Regions from separate parts of the Homo sapiens genome. Here regions 1 and 2 are each linked to region 3. The links are contacts of gene promoters, found by promoter capture Hi-C in human tissues and cell types (Jung and others, 2019). All regions are on one chromosome and are shown on one strand. Each heading gives the region's core, a stretch centred on a gene start or on the middle of the fragment in contact. The rest is flanking DNA. Distances are from core to core; before and after follow the strand shown.

What was found. The method cuts DNA at HindIII sites, captures the fragments that hold promoters and counts their contacts. A contact is called where the count stands out against the background at its distance.
Region 1: a fragment that was not itself captured here is called in contact with the fragment with the promoter of ANKRD11 in region 3 in 3 of the 25 tissues and cell types used here (mesenchymal stem cells, pancreas and spleen).
Region 2: a fragment that was not itself captured here is called in contact with the fragment with the promoter of ANKRD11 in region 3 in 2 of the 25 tissues and cell types used here (hippocampus and mesenchymal stem cells).

What each region holds. Positions count from the first base shown.
Region 1 is chr16:89,433,464-89,438,078 of GRCh38, reverse strand. All of the region lies in intron 1 of ANKRD11 (ankyrin repeat domain containing 11), which reads left to right. All of the region lies in intron 1 of LOC101927817 (a long non-coding RNA gene), which reads right to left. Among named protein-coding and RNA genes, the nearest start is that of ANKRD11, 55 kb to the left of the region's middle. RefSeq lists an enhancer at 4,392-4,615. The HindIII fragment of the contact is 5,175 bases long and covers 602-4,615 here.
Region 2 is chr16:89,455,403-89,459,679 of GRCh38, reverse strand. The region is part of intron 1 of ANKRD11 (ankyrin repeat domain containing 11); the gene reads left to right. It also overlaps the pseudogene CMPK1P2. Among named protein-coding and RNA genes, the nearest start is that of ANKRD11, 33 kb to the left of the region's middle. RefSeq lists enhancers at 334-833, 834-1,335. The HindIII fragment of the contact is 8,928 bases long and covers 1-4,277 here.
Region 3 is chr16:89,488,606-89,492,794 of GRCh38, reverse strand. ANKRD11 (ankyrin repeat domain containing 11) reads left to right here and starts at 2,234. Exons shown (of 13, transcript NM_013275.6): 1 at 2,234-2,550. LOC101930112 (a long non-coding RNA gene) reads right to left here and starts at 1,825. Exons shown (of 2, transcript XR_933895.4): 1 at 1,409-1,825. It overlaps LOC101927863 (a long non-coding RNA gene), which reads left to right. Exons shown (of 5, transcript NR_188547.1): 5 at 162-392. RefSeq lists silencers at 1,515-1,564, 1,685-1,774, 1,975-2,454, 3,029-3,078, 3,159-3,268 and 1 more and enhancers at 2,660-3,174, 3,175-3,688. The HindIII fragment of the contact is 15,043 bases long and covers 1-4,189 here.

The DNA.
Region 1 (4,615 bases), core at 1,940-4,439, 56 kb after region 3:
AGCGGGCTCTCCTTGGGACACTGCCACTTGCCTTCATGGTGGACTCTGCCTGGTGTTGGTGTCTAGAAATACAATGGACTTGTGTATATTCATCTTATATTTTGTATCCAGGAATTTTTCTTTCTACAGATGAGGAAACTAAGAATGATTTTAACCATGGCTGCCCAACTCCACAGCCCCCGGGCCTAGTTTGCATTATGCATTGCCCTGCACTGACCCATAGGAGATTGAACTGGGCATAGCGTCGAGGTGCCCTGGAGGGTGGGTTGCTGGAGCTGGGAGTGGCATTAGGAGTAGTGGAGAGGCATGGCGGAGGAGCGGATGCATGGGAGGTGCAGAGGCCAGTGAGAAATGAGAGTGGCCAGGGCACCACAGCCTCCCTACCAGACAGGAAGAGCCGGAGAGAGCTGGTCTGAGGGACAGCGTCTCTAGCCTTGAATCCATGGCTTTCATAAACCCCTTGGACATCTGGTGAGTGGGCTCTTGGGAGAGATGTCAGGTTGGAGAGAGCTCTGGAGGACTGTCTCTGGAGGACTGTTTGCTCAGGGGAGATGGTGGCATGCTGGGAAGTGAGGGGCTGCTCAGTGAGAGAGTGGGAGGCACAGAAGAGCAGAAAGAAGAAGAGGTGAATGAGGAGAGAGGAAGTAGGGGTGTGGAGGAGTCAGTGGGAGGCGGGAAGAGCCAGCCTGTTTGCTGCACTGGTTTGGGAACATTAGAGTGAAGAAAACAGATGTTGGGGCAAACAATACAGTCTTTCACTTTTTGGTATTTTTTTGGTGGCTTTTTAAAAAATTCTCTGTCATATTAGCATATTAGCATCATGCTTGGTTCATGGAATGAGAGGCCACTGTTGTTGGCCCTCTTCATAAGTGGACGTTCCTTCTCCATTTCCAGGTTAGAAGGTGTGTGCTGCGCTTTCAGTGATGGATCTGTTCGCTTCGTTCCCTTCCCTGTTGTGAAAATGGTCACACACAGGCTGATGCCGTTTGGGTGTGTGTTGTCGTTTTCTTCTGTGACATCTCCTTCCTCGTATGTCACTTTTTAGGATATTGGGGACAAATGTTCTAAATTCATCAACTTTGACCATCTTTTGTTTAAAGGAAACTACTTTGAGTTTCCTACTTTTCTCTCTTTTTAAAAGATGTGGTTGATAAATGTATATTAAATTTTATTCAGTTAGCTTAAGAAAGTAGATAAGTTTATTGAAGAGCAAAACACAAAGCTTCGGCAATACCATTGTCCAACCTTCAGGGGTCTCTAACAGTTCTCTAGTTATTAATTCCCTCACAGTTACCTCAGGGGATTAGAATAACTTTATTAAAACAAAAATATAGTAAAAGTTTTTTGGTTTTTCGCGTGTCCTCCGTTGACTTGTCAGTGTTGAGAGTTACTTTTTATTTTGTATCTGAAGGAGCAGCTTAGAGGAATAGTTATTCCAGGAAGAAGAGCTCTGATGGCTGATGCCCCTGCGTCTTCATTTCCGCCTGCTTCAGTCCTGCTCTTGCGGAACAGCCGTCCTGTTTGCTATGTCCCAACACCCAAGGCAGACGTCGCTTGAGGCTCTTGTATAATACTTGCTGTTAGAGACAGTGGTCTTTTCTGCTTGAATCTCTTGTTGATGAATGTCATCTGTCAGGAGAAACTTGGATTATCTTTTTTTTTTTGAGACCGAGTCTCACTCTGTTGCCCAGGCTGGAGTGCAGTGGCATGATCTTGGCTCACTGTAACCTCCATCTCCTGGGTTTAAGCAATTCTCGTGCCTCAGCCTCCCACGTAGCTGGGACTACAGGTTCTGAGCCATCACGCCCAGCTCATTTTTGTATTGTTAGTACAGATAGGTTTCACCGAGTTGGCCAGGCTGGTCTCGAACTCCTGACCTCAGGTGATCCACCCATCTCCGTCTCCTAAAGTGCTGGGATTACAGGCATGAGCCACTGTGCCCGGCCGAATTATCATGTTTTAATAGAAGAAAATTTTAGTCTACTTTCCCAAATGGGGAATCTTTCCTTTTGCTGGGGGGTCTGCAGTCATATTGTTGGAAGAATGTGTGACCCTGCAAAACCCTCTGCTCTCAGCAGCACCTGCTGGGCTGGTGGGCGTGCTCAGCACAGCTCCAGGACACAACTGGCTGTTCTTGAAACTTGCGGTGATTTAGAGGTGATGGGCGGCACCAGCACATTGAACTGAATGCAGAAGTTGAAGTGAAAAAGGCTTCCTGTTCCTTGAGCGAACAGACCGAAAGCGTGTGTGTGTGTGTGTGTGTGTGTGTGTGTGTGTGTGTGAAGAGCTGGTGGCTGTGGGTGCGTCAGTTGGTCTGTTCCTTGAGTGGACAGTCAGTTGGTCTTGGACTCCCAGCAGGACAGAACGAAAGTACGTCTGCGTGTGAATGTGTCTGGAATTGGTTCCTTCCGGTGGGTTCTCGGTCTCGCTGACTTCAAGAATGAAGCTGTGGACCCTCGCGGTGAGTGTCACAGTTCTTAAAGATGGTGTGTCCGGAGTTTGTTCCTTCAGATTTTCAGATGTGTCTGGAGTGTTTTCCTTCTGGTGGGTTCGTGGTCTCGCTGACTTCAGGAGTGAAGCTGCAGACCTTCGCGCTGAGGGTTACAGCTCATAAAGGTAGTACAGACCCAAAGAGTGAGCAGCAGCAAGATTTATTGTGAAGAGTGAAAGAACACAGCTCCCACAGCATGGAAGGGGACCCCAGTGGGTTGCTGCTGCTGGCTCATGTGGCCAGCTTTTATTCCCTTATTCGGCCCTGCCCACGTACTGCTGATTGGTCCATTTACAGAGCGCTGATTGGGCCATTTTACAGAGTGCTGATTGGTCCATTTTTACAGAATGCTGATTGGTTAGTTTATAAACCTTTAGCTAGACACAGAGTGCTGATTGGTGCGTTTTTACAGAGTGCTGATTGGTGAGTTTAGAAACCTTTAGCTAGACAGCGCTGATTGATGCATTTGTACAGAGTGCTGATTGGTGCATTTACAGACCTTTAGCTAGACAGAAGAGTTTTCCAAGTCCCCACCCGACCCAGAAGCCCAGCTGGCTTCACCTCTCATGAAGAGCTGGTGGCTGTGGGTGTATCAGTTGGTCTTGGGCTCCCAGCAGTTGAGTGTTCACACCTGGGCCTGCGCCCTGCTTCACCTAGCCATCCGCATGGACACTTCAGTTTGTCGTGGGTTTTCTTGTGCCTTGGTGCAGTCTCACCAGTTAGAGCATAACTTCCTCAGGGCAAGGCTGCCCCAGACAGCCAGTGTCCTCGCCGCGTCTCCATCCAGTGCTTTCCTGTCTTTGTTATTAGATGCTCATCAAACATGAGGCCACTACAAACTAGAAGACCTTGGCTAGAGTCCTGAGACCTTGTGTGTGTGGTGTGGCTGTGTGAGTCTCTGCCCATCCCACACGCCACTCTTTAATAAGAGCAGATTTTGGACCTCAGGAGACATCTGTTGTGGAATTTATAGGCATGGATTGTCGGGCCAGCTTTCCTTCTGCTGATTAGCTGCTGACCAGCCGCATGCTTCTGCAGCCTTACTGTGACAGGTGGGGCTCAGGTGGCCTGGGCAGGGGTGAGGCACAGGACTGCGCGGTGCTGCTCCTCCTGGCTGCAGCGACTTCGCTGGATTCTCTCATTTTTATGGCTTTCTTTCTCAGACTAGGTCTTTCCGACTTGCGTGGAGAAGAAGAGTATGAGAATTCTCAAGTTAGAGAAGAATTGCTTTATGGTCATTATTTCGACAACTGTATGACTGGGAGTTTGGGTGAGGAAGGGCTAGATCAGTGATTTTTTTTTAAATTAGATTTACTTGGAAAACATTAAAAAAATTGCAGTTCACCCCCAGACACACAGAATCCATAGTGTCTTGAGGAGGTGAGTGTGTGTAGGGTGCACCATGGGTGAGTGGCATCTTGGAGGCACTGGGGTGCTGCTGCCGTATGGCCCTTCTCTTGGTCCTGTTTGCATTTGGGGCCTGTTGTTTATTTCTAGTGGGTGGTGCAGGCCAGGCAGGGTAGGTGGGCATCCTCCCTTCTCTGTAGGTGACACACTAGGGGCATCTTCTCAGAGTAACCAGCTGGGAGCTGGAAACTTCTGTATTTAGAAGCCAGTGTCCATGTCCCCTTCTCCCTTATAGTGTGGTTAAACAATCAAATGTTAATACCAGATGTCGATGTAGCTGTTTTCTCAGGAGTTCTTGGATTCTGAGGCAGAGAGCAGCCCCTTTTCTCTCCACAGTGGGGCTCTGGGGCTGGAGAAGGTGGCGTGCCCAGTCCCCGCGTCCAAGCCCGTTGCTTCTCTCTTACTCTCGTGAAGGTGGCGTGCCCAGCCCTGCTGCGTCCAAGCCCGTTCCTTCTCTCTTACTCTCGTGAAGGTGGCGTGCCCAGCCCTGCTGCGTCCAAGCCCGTTCCTTCTCTCTTACTCTCGTGAAGGTGGCGTGCCCAGCCCTGCTGCGTCCAAGCCCGTTCCTTCTCTCTTACTCTGGTGAAGGTGGTGTGCCCAGCCCCCACGTCCAACCCTGTTCTTCTCTGTTGCGCTCCTGCTGCTCCTTTAGGGAGGCCTTTTAGTGTTGCTGGAGCTGGGACTGGTGGCCAACGCCGTGTCTCTGTTCTGAATAGT
Region 2 (4,277 bases), core at 1,409-3,908, 34 kb after region 3:
AATTTTATTTTTTTAAACCTTTTTATAGAACACGATCAGTTGTTTGATAAATACTGAAACAGTACTAGGAATCAGTTTTTTAGTTGTTTACCAAACATATTATGCAGGAACTGAATTCACAAAAAGTTGTTTTGAAATTTGGTCCACAAATTCACTTAAGGTTGGAAATAAAAAACTTGTAAGAGGCCGGGTGTCGTGGCTCAAAAAGAAAGGAAAGGATACTTTCAGGCTTAGAGTTAGTCTTTTTTGTTGGAAATTTTCACAACTTCAGAAAAACTTCATCAACAGGTTTAGAAGCATCCGTTTTATTGACTTTCCCGATTTCTTCGTATGAGTCAGTAATTGTTTTTGTTAACTTGAAGATGGGTCTGAATTCTCTTTTCCAAGCTCTCTCTGCTGGCTTCACTCTTACCACTGTTCCCTCCTCTCAAGACATCCTTTCATGTAGATCTCATTATTATGGTCAGAAAACAGAACCAGATGCACATCTGCCTTTCCCATCCATGCTCTTGGCCCAACCTTGAAGGTTGTCTTGATTTCTTAGAAACTCATCAAGAATTTATTCTTAGCATTGGCAGCCATTGTCTGATCCATTTCCCATGTGAATAAATGCATGTATGGTTATTTCATCTAGCACAGTCTTCCCTTGTTTAGTATAGTTTTTGAAGAGTTCACCACTGTGAATCTGGGTTCTTTCATCACAGAGAAGTTTTCCTGAAGACAGGTGTATGTGACCAGGGTCACGACGGTGTGGGTTTGCTGCGTCCCCTTGCCAGTGCCAGGACCCCTGAGGAACCACAGGACCAGTGGGCAGCTTCATGAGGCCGGGGCCGCAGAGGAGATGCAGGCAGCCAGTCAGCAGCAGGAAGCTGAGGCCTAGGGCACGCAGTGGCCAGCAGCAGGCTGGCTCCCTCTTTGGGAGGTTAAATCAAGTTTTGGTTACCAAAGGCAAAGCAGGCTTGGATTTTGTTTAAGGAGATGCTGTTGAATGAAACAGCTTCTTTGTAGCAAGCAGCCTTGGAGATGATTAATGGAACATGTCTGAACTTGCCAGAGTGATGTTCAGCCTTCCAGTGGAACTGCAAAATCATGAGTGAAAGCGTGGCAAAGTATTTTCTTTAATGTAAAATGTTATTCCTAAGAAATGAAATTACGTGGCCGGGCACGGTGGCTCACGCCTGTAATCCCAGCACTTTGGGAGGCCGAGATGGGCGGATCACGAGGTCAGGAGATCGAGACCATCCTGGCTAACATGGTGAAACCCCGTCTCTACTAAAAATACAAAAAATTAGCCGGGCGTGGTGGCGGGCGCCTGTAGTCCCAGCTACTCAGGAGGCTGAGGCAGGAGAATGGCCTGAACCCGGGAGGCGGAGCTTGCAGTGAGCGGAGATCGCGCCACTGCACTCCAACCTGGGTGACACAGTGAGATTCCGTCTCAAAAAAAAAAAAGAAATGAAATTACGTAAAGCAAGTGCTAAAGTACAACAAGAACAGGAGTTTATGTTTTGAAGAAAATTGGTTGAGTTTTATTTTGGTTAAACCTCTAAAGCACCGTTTCAGAAAGCTTTTTTTTTTCTTTTTGTGTCACTGCTTTCCTGGGGCCACCGCACAGCAGAGGTGTCTGAGAACAGAGTTGCAGGTGGATGGCTGCGGTCTCCAGTCCCCAGGTGTGGGGTCTCCAGGGCTCTGGCCAGAACATCTTTCTTTGGGAGCAAGTCATTGCGAGGTGCCGTCTCAGCTGGGGTCTGGGTCTGAATCTGACGATTGTGTATTGGTTCGCGTGGCTCCATTCAGCTCCACACTTGTGTGTTTCACATGTACCTGGATTTCTTCAGTGATGTTTATACCTGTATACTTTATATAATAAAAGCAGCCATTTTAGAAGGTACAGTAGGATGAGTTTGACAGTTTTGATACCCCAGGTATTAAGCACCAGCTTGACACAGACATTTCCATCACCGCAGAATGCCCATTTGTAACCAGAACCCTCCACTGCCCCAAGCACTGCCAGCCCACTTTCTGTTATTGTGGATTAGTTTTGCTTATTTTAGAATTTCATATGAATGGAATTTGTAGTCTTTTTTTTTTTTTTTCTTGAGACGGAGCCTTGCTGGAGTGCAGTGGCGCGATCTCAGCTCACTGCAGCCTCCGCCTCCCGGGTTCAAGTGATTCTTCTGCCCTAGCCTCCCGAGTAGCTGGGATTACGGGTGCCCACCACCACGCCTGGCTAATTTTTGTATTTTCAAGTAGAGACAGGGTTTTACCATATTGACTGGGCTGGTCTTGAACTCCTGACCGCATGATCTGCCCACCTCATCCTCCCAAAGTGCTGAGATTACAGGCGTGAGCCACTGCGCCTGGCCTGGAATTTGTAGTCTTTTGAGTCTGACATACTACTTTAATTTTATTGAGGTAAGACTCGGCCGGGCGCGGTGGCTCACGCCTGTAATCCCAGCACTTTGGGAGGCCGAGGCGGGCGGATCACGAGGTCAGGAGATCGAGACCATCCCGGCTAAAACGGTGAAACCCCGTCTCTACTAAAAATACAAAAAATTAGCCGGGCGTAGTGGCGGGCGCCTGTAGTCCCAGCTACTTGGGAGGCTGAGGCAGGAGAATGGCGTGAACCCGGGAGGCGGAGCTTGCAGTGAGCCGAGATTGCGCCACTGCACTCCAGCCTGGGCGACAGAGCGAGACTCCGTCTCAAAAAAAAAAAAAAAAAAAAGACTCACATAACGAACACCCCACCACTCTGACCATTTGAATGTGTACAATTCCATGGCCTGTAGCACATTTACAACTTTGTGCAACTAGCACCATTATGTCTATTCCAGGATATTTCTGTTCCCCCCGAAGGAAGCGCTCCACTTCTCCGCAGCTCTTCAGCCACTGTTGACTCTGTGCCACTGTGGATCTGTCTATTTTGGAGACTTCCTAGGAATGAGTTCATATAATATATGGCCTTTAGTGTCCGGCTTCTTTCACATAACGTGTTTTTGGAGTCCATCTATGTTGTATGTCTTGGAACTGTATTCCTGTTTACTTGTGAATAATGCTGCATTGTCTGGGTGTAGGCAGGGTGTTTACCCATCCTGTCTTGATTGACACTTGGCTTGTTTCCATCTTTTTTTTTTTTTTTTGAAACGGAGTCTTGCTCTGTCACCCAGCCTGGAGTGGCGTGATCTCGGCTTGCTGCAACCTCCGCCTCCCGGGTTCAAGTGATTCTCCTGCCTCAGCCTCCCGAGTAGCTGGCATTACTGGCACATGCCACCACGCTCGGCTAATTTTCTATTTTTAGTAGAGACAGGGTTTTTCCATGTTGGTTAGGCTGGTCTCGAACTCCTGACCTCAAGTGGTCTGCCTGTCTTGCCCTCCCGAAGTGCTGGGATTACAGGCATGAGCCAGCTTGCCTGGCCCCCGTTTCCACCCCCCCTTTTTTTTTTGGGACCGAATCTTGTTCTGTTGCCCAGGCTGGAGTATAGTGGCACAATCTCGGTTCACTGCAACATCCGCCTCCTGGGTTCAAATGATTCTCCTGCCTTAGCCTCCCGGGTAGCTGGGACTACAGGTGCACGCCACCACACCAGACTACTTTTTGTATTTTTCAGTAGAGACAGGATTTCAGCATGTTGGCCAGGCTGGTCTCAAACTCCTGACCTCAGGTGATTGGCCAGCTTCAGCCTCTCAAAAGTGCTGGGATTAGAGGTGTGAGCCACCACGCCCTACCTGTTTCCACCTTTCTGTTTTCAATAGTGCTGTGAGCATGTGTGCACAGGTTTCCATTTGAACACTTTTTGGGCATATACCAAGGAGTGGAATTGCTGTGTTATATCATAGTTCTGTGTTTACCTTTTGAGGAATTGCCAAAGTATTTCAACAACAGCTGCACCATTTTACATTCCTACCAGATAGGTCAAAATGTACAGCCCCAATTCTTTGAGAATTGAGTCTGCGGCACTCTTTTGTACCAGCAATGGGGGCTGCTGTCTCCAAGGATGAGGTGTGTGAGCAGGTAAGTTCCTCTCCACAGCTCTCTCCTGCCCAAATCGAGCAGCTTTTTCATTAGGCGTTCTCTGCTTGTTAGAAGTTTTTTATTAGACTCCACAGTTCTGAAGAGTTGATTCTGACAGTTTTTGCAGCTTACTCATGCAGTGTTGGAAGGAGTGAGTTTTGGGGCTGTTTTCAGTGACATCCCCACCTGGTGTGTTTTGAGGTTTGTCCATGATGTGGTGCGTGTAGCTCCTGTGTGGTTTTTCTTACTGAGTAGCTTATATAGCTAT
Region 3 (4,189 bases), core at 985-3,484:
GCTCCTTTCCCTTTACTCTGCATTTCTTTTCTCTACCATACACGTTCTACTTCTGTCGAAATTCAGTTTGCTTTTACCTTAGTGTATTTTCAGATTCTGTTTCGAAGGCCAACTGCCTGCTTACTCATATTAATATTTTGCACTTTAAATTCCCCTGATAGATGAGCATGGTGGTGCAGGCCTGTAATCTCAGCTCCTCAGGCGGGAGGATCACTTGATCCCCGGAAGTTTGAAGCTGGACTGCGCTGACCGCACCTGTGAATACCACTGCCCGTCAATCAGCCTAGGGGAAACATTCTCGAGTGCGAGCATGACGGCTTAGGTTGATGTTTTTCAAATTTTCCCAATGATGAGTATTGTAAGGGACCAAAATAAAAAAATGCCAATGCCTAGTCCCCTCTCATCTAGAATAATTCCATAGGTGATGATGGGGTCCAGGACTCTGAATTTCGTCAATTTTACCAAATACTTCGTCCAGTGAGGCAAATATGGAAACACTTGGATCACCTCTTCGTGAACGCACATCAGCGCATACGCCGGCTGTTTTTATCAGGCGCTCACCCCTCATCCAATGGCGTGACTAGTTGTGGGTGGAGCCCGAAATCTGGCTGCCTAGAGAAGGCTGAAGGTCCAGTTATAGCATAACTAATGTTTCCCCAGAGCTCACATACGTGCCAAGCACCGTGCTACAGCCTCCACAGCCCCTTCATTTAATCTTCCCGATGGGCCTATGAAATAGGTGCTCCTGGCCCGCACCGTGGCTCATGCCTCTAATCCCAGCACTTTGGGAAGCTGAGGAGGGAGGGTCGCTTGAGTCCAGGATTTCAAGACCAGCCTGGGAAACACACAGAGAGCCTATCTCTACGAAAATTTAAAAAATTAGCCGGGTGTGGTGATGCCTGACTGTGGTCCCACCTACTTAGTAGGCTAAGGTGGGAGGATCCTCTGAGCCCGGGAAGCTGAGGCTGCAGTTAGCACTGCACTCCAGCATGGGCGACAGAGTGAGACCCTGACTCAAAAAAAAAAAAAAAAAAGAATAGGTGCTACTTGTAGTTCCCATTTTACCCACCAAGAAACTGAAGATCTGAGAGACAAAGCCTACAGGGTGACCGCTAGTCACTGGTAGGGCTGGGATTTGAACAGGGGCGGTTTAACAACTGATCTCTCGACCATAATGCGTGTTGCCCAAGAAAAAAGACCGTCCTCACGGTCCTATCCACTCCGGACTTTGCAATTCCGTTATTTCGTAAATTGAGGCCTATAAATAGTTTGCTTACCCGTTGTCTTAGTCCCCAGTAACATGCAGAACTAAAGAAGAAACTGAAGGAGCACCGATTTTGTTCACCTTGCTTTTTGGTTTAGTTCTGGAGGAGAACACAGGTGCACTTAGAACAGGATCCACACTTACCAGAGGCTTGATTCATTTTAGCTGCAAAGAAAACCAGTCCTCGTCTACCTTTTTCGCGTGTTGGAGAACTAACTAGCAAGGCAGGGAATGCGGTTCGTGGGCGCTTGGCCTCCTCAAGCGGCTCAGGCTCTCAGAGCGCGAGGCCCAGGGGCTCTGGAGCCGCGGCCGCGACGCGCCCGAGGGCCGTTCTCTTCGACGGCAGAGCAAGAGTCACCGCGCGGGAGCCCCGAGCGACCGCCCCGCTGCCCCGGTACCCTCCCCTCGCAGCCGCCCAGAGCTCTTCATGCCCCGTGACGCCCGTTAGGGCAGCGCGGCCGGAGGCCGGGCCGGACGTGGCCCGAGATGTCCGGGGGCAGGCAGAAGACCACGGGCACGCGACAGGCAACCGCCGCCTCGGCTCTAGAGGTGGACGTTTTGTCTCCCTGCGCTTCAATACCAGATTTTGTTTCCAGACGACATCCCTGTTGCTTCCGGCACTTGGAAAGACCAATCGTCAGGCCCGAGAATGCAAGACCCACCCTCCTTTGCGACGGAGGCAGCCAATCCAGTTGCTCGCTACTTCCAGTGTCGCATGCGCCCTTACGCAGGACCCTGCCCAATCGTTACCGGGACGTCCTCCTAGTCCCGCCTCCGGACCGCCAGAGAGGCTGTCAATCCCGCCTCTCTCCTTCACTCCATTAGCGCACTAACTCACGGCGCTGTGACGTGCACAGCCCCTGCGGCCGGCCGGGGCGGGCCAATGGCGGTGGCGGATACGGCGGGCCAATGGGCGGGAGCGTCTCATGCGGCCGGCTCCCGCCGCAGCCGCCGCTGGGTCCTGGAGCCAGAGGCCGCCCTGAGACGGTGCGCGATGGACCGAGGGCCCCAGCCGGGGAGGCGCCGCCGCCGAGCCCGCGGCCAGACGCCCCATCAGTAGCGTCCGCACCGGGAGCCGCGGCTCTCGCCCGAGCCGTGGGCGCGCCCGAGGGGCGGGCTCGCCTCCCGCCGTCCCTCGCAGCTCTGCCGGGCCCGAGCCCGCGCCGCCGCCGCCGCCGCCTTGCCGCTCGGGCCGCGCGGCCCGGGAAACGCGGCCGCGGGCTGCATGGGCAGCGCCCGCGCCCCGCCGCTGAGCCGTCGCGGAGCCGCGCAGCCCTCGGAGCACGGTGAGAGGCGCCGCTGGTCTGGGGGCGGTGGTCGGGGCGGGCACGGGGCATTCGCGCGGCCTTGCGGCCTGCAGGCCTTCCCCGGCGACGGAGCTGCGCCGCGGGCCTCCGGGCGGGCCTGGGGGGTCGGGGCCGGGTGGGCGGGGGTCTTTGGGGGCCCGGGGCGATCGTGAGGGACCAATAATGGGTCCCGGAGCGGGCCTACGGGTCCGGGTTCGGGGCAGCCGGGGGTCTTTGGGGGCCCGGGGTGGCCGTGAGGGGCCCATAGGGGGCTCCGGGGGGGGCCTGGGAGGTCGGCGGAGCTTGGGTCGGCCGTAAGGGGCGGACGGGGGCTCCGGGCGGGCCTGGGTGGCCGGGGGCCCGCGGCGGCTCTGAGGGGCCGATTGGGGGCTCCGGGGCGGGCCTGGGGGCCGTGGGGGCCCGGGGCGGCCGTGAGAGGCGGACAGGGGGCTCCGGGGCGGGCCTCGGGGGCTCGGAGCGGCCGTGAGGGGCGGACGGGGGGCTTCGGGGCGGGCCTGCAGGTCTTGGGGACCTGAGGCTGCCGGGAGGGGCTGCCAGGGGGCGCTGGCCGGGCGCCGGGTTCTGCGGAGCTGGGGCGCCGACCTCTGACCCGCGAGAGGGGCGCCTTCGCCGTGCTGGTCGTAGTTGTTATTCTCAGCGTCCCTATTATTATCGCTGTTTTGAAATGAGAGCAGGCGGCTCTCGGGCTCCGAGCCGGAGGGGGAGGGCGAACTGGGGACCTGGGGGCGTCGGGGTTGCAGGAGGCGCGCGTAGGCCGAGGAGGGGCAGGAATGCGGGCAGCCGTGTGGGGGGTGTTAGGGGGAGGGTAGGCGGGCGGGTGTGGGGGGTGGCTGGGAGGAAAGCGGTGGCGGTGGCGGCTGCAACAGCAGCCCTTGGCCTCAAGGAACAATGTGAGACGTTGCCTGAAATGTTAATTTCCGTTCCTCATTTCATCATCCCCTGGCAGGGCGGTAGCTGTGTGTGTGGTGTATGTGTGTGCGCGCGCGCGCGCGCGCGCGTGTGTGTGTGTGTGTAGGGTTGGCCCTGCCACATTGATTCAGTCCCCTCTCAAAGAGGGATTGTACTGTTAACTCTTGTGTTTGTGTTATTTGGGAAGGTTGGTCGGGGGGAGTCTTGATTTTTCTCGAGGCTTGCTCTTTTCCTGGTGCCCCATTAAGATTTTCTGCTTCTGTTGTGTTTTTGGAAGGTTAGTGTTATATATCAGCTTCCAAGAAGTTTTGGAAGAGGCTTGGGAAGATGAAGCTGGTCTAACAGCTCCCTATGCTTTGAAACTGTTTTCCTTCTATGTAACATGCTTAGGATTCATCGTTTTTGTAGATTATGAGTAGTTTTGTATCCTTTTGCAAGAACAGGGTTTTATGGTAGAGAAATTAGATTTCAGGCTTTCTTACATGAGGAGAGAGTTTTATGCAGTCATTAGAGCAATATCCTTAACACTTGAAATGAGAAATAAAAGTGTGCACAGTTGTTGAACTGCAAAACTTAGAGAATCTTTTGATCCTTTTTGGGATGTTGAGACTTAGCCAAACATATAAGATGATATTACCTGTGGAAAAAGTGCCATCGAAACAGTTACTGTTTTTGTTGTGTGCAGACCTAGTCTATGGCATAACGTTCA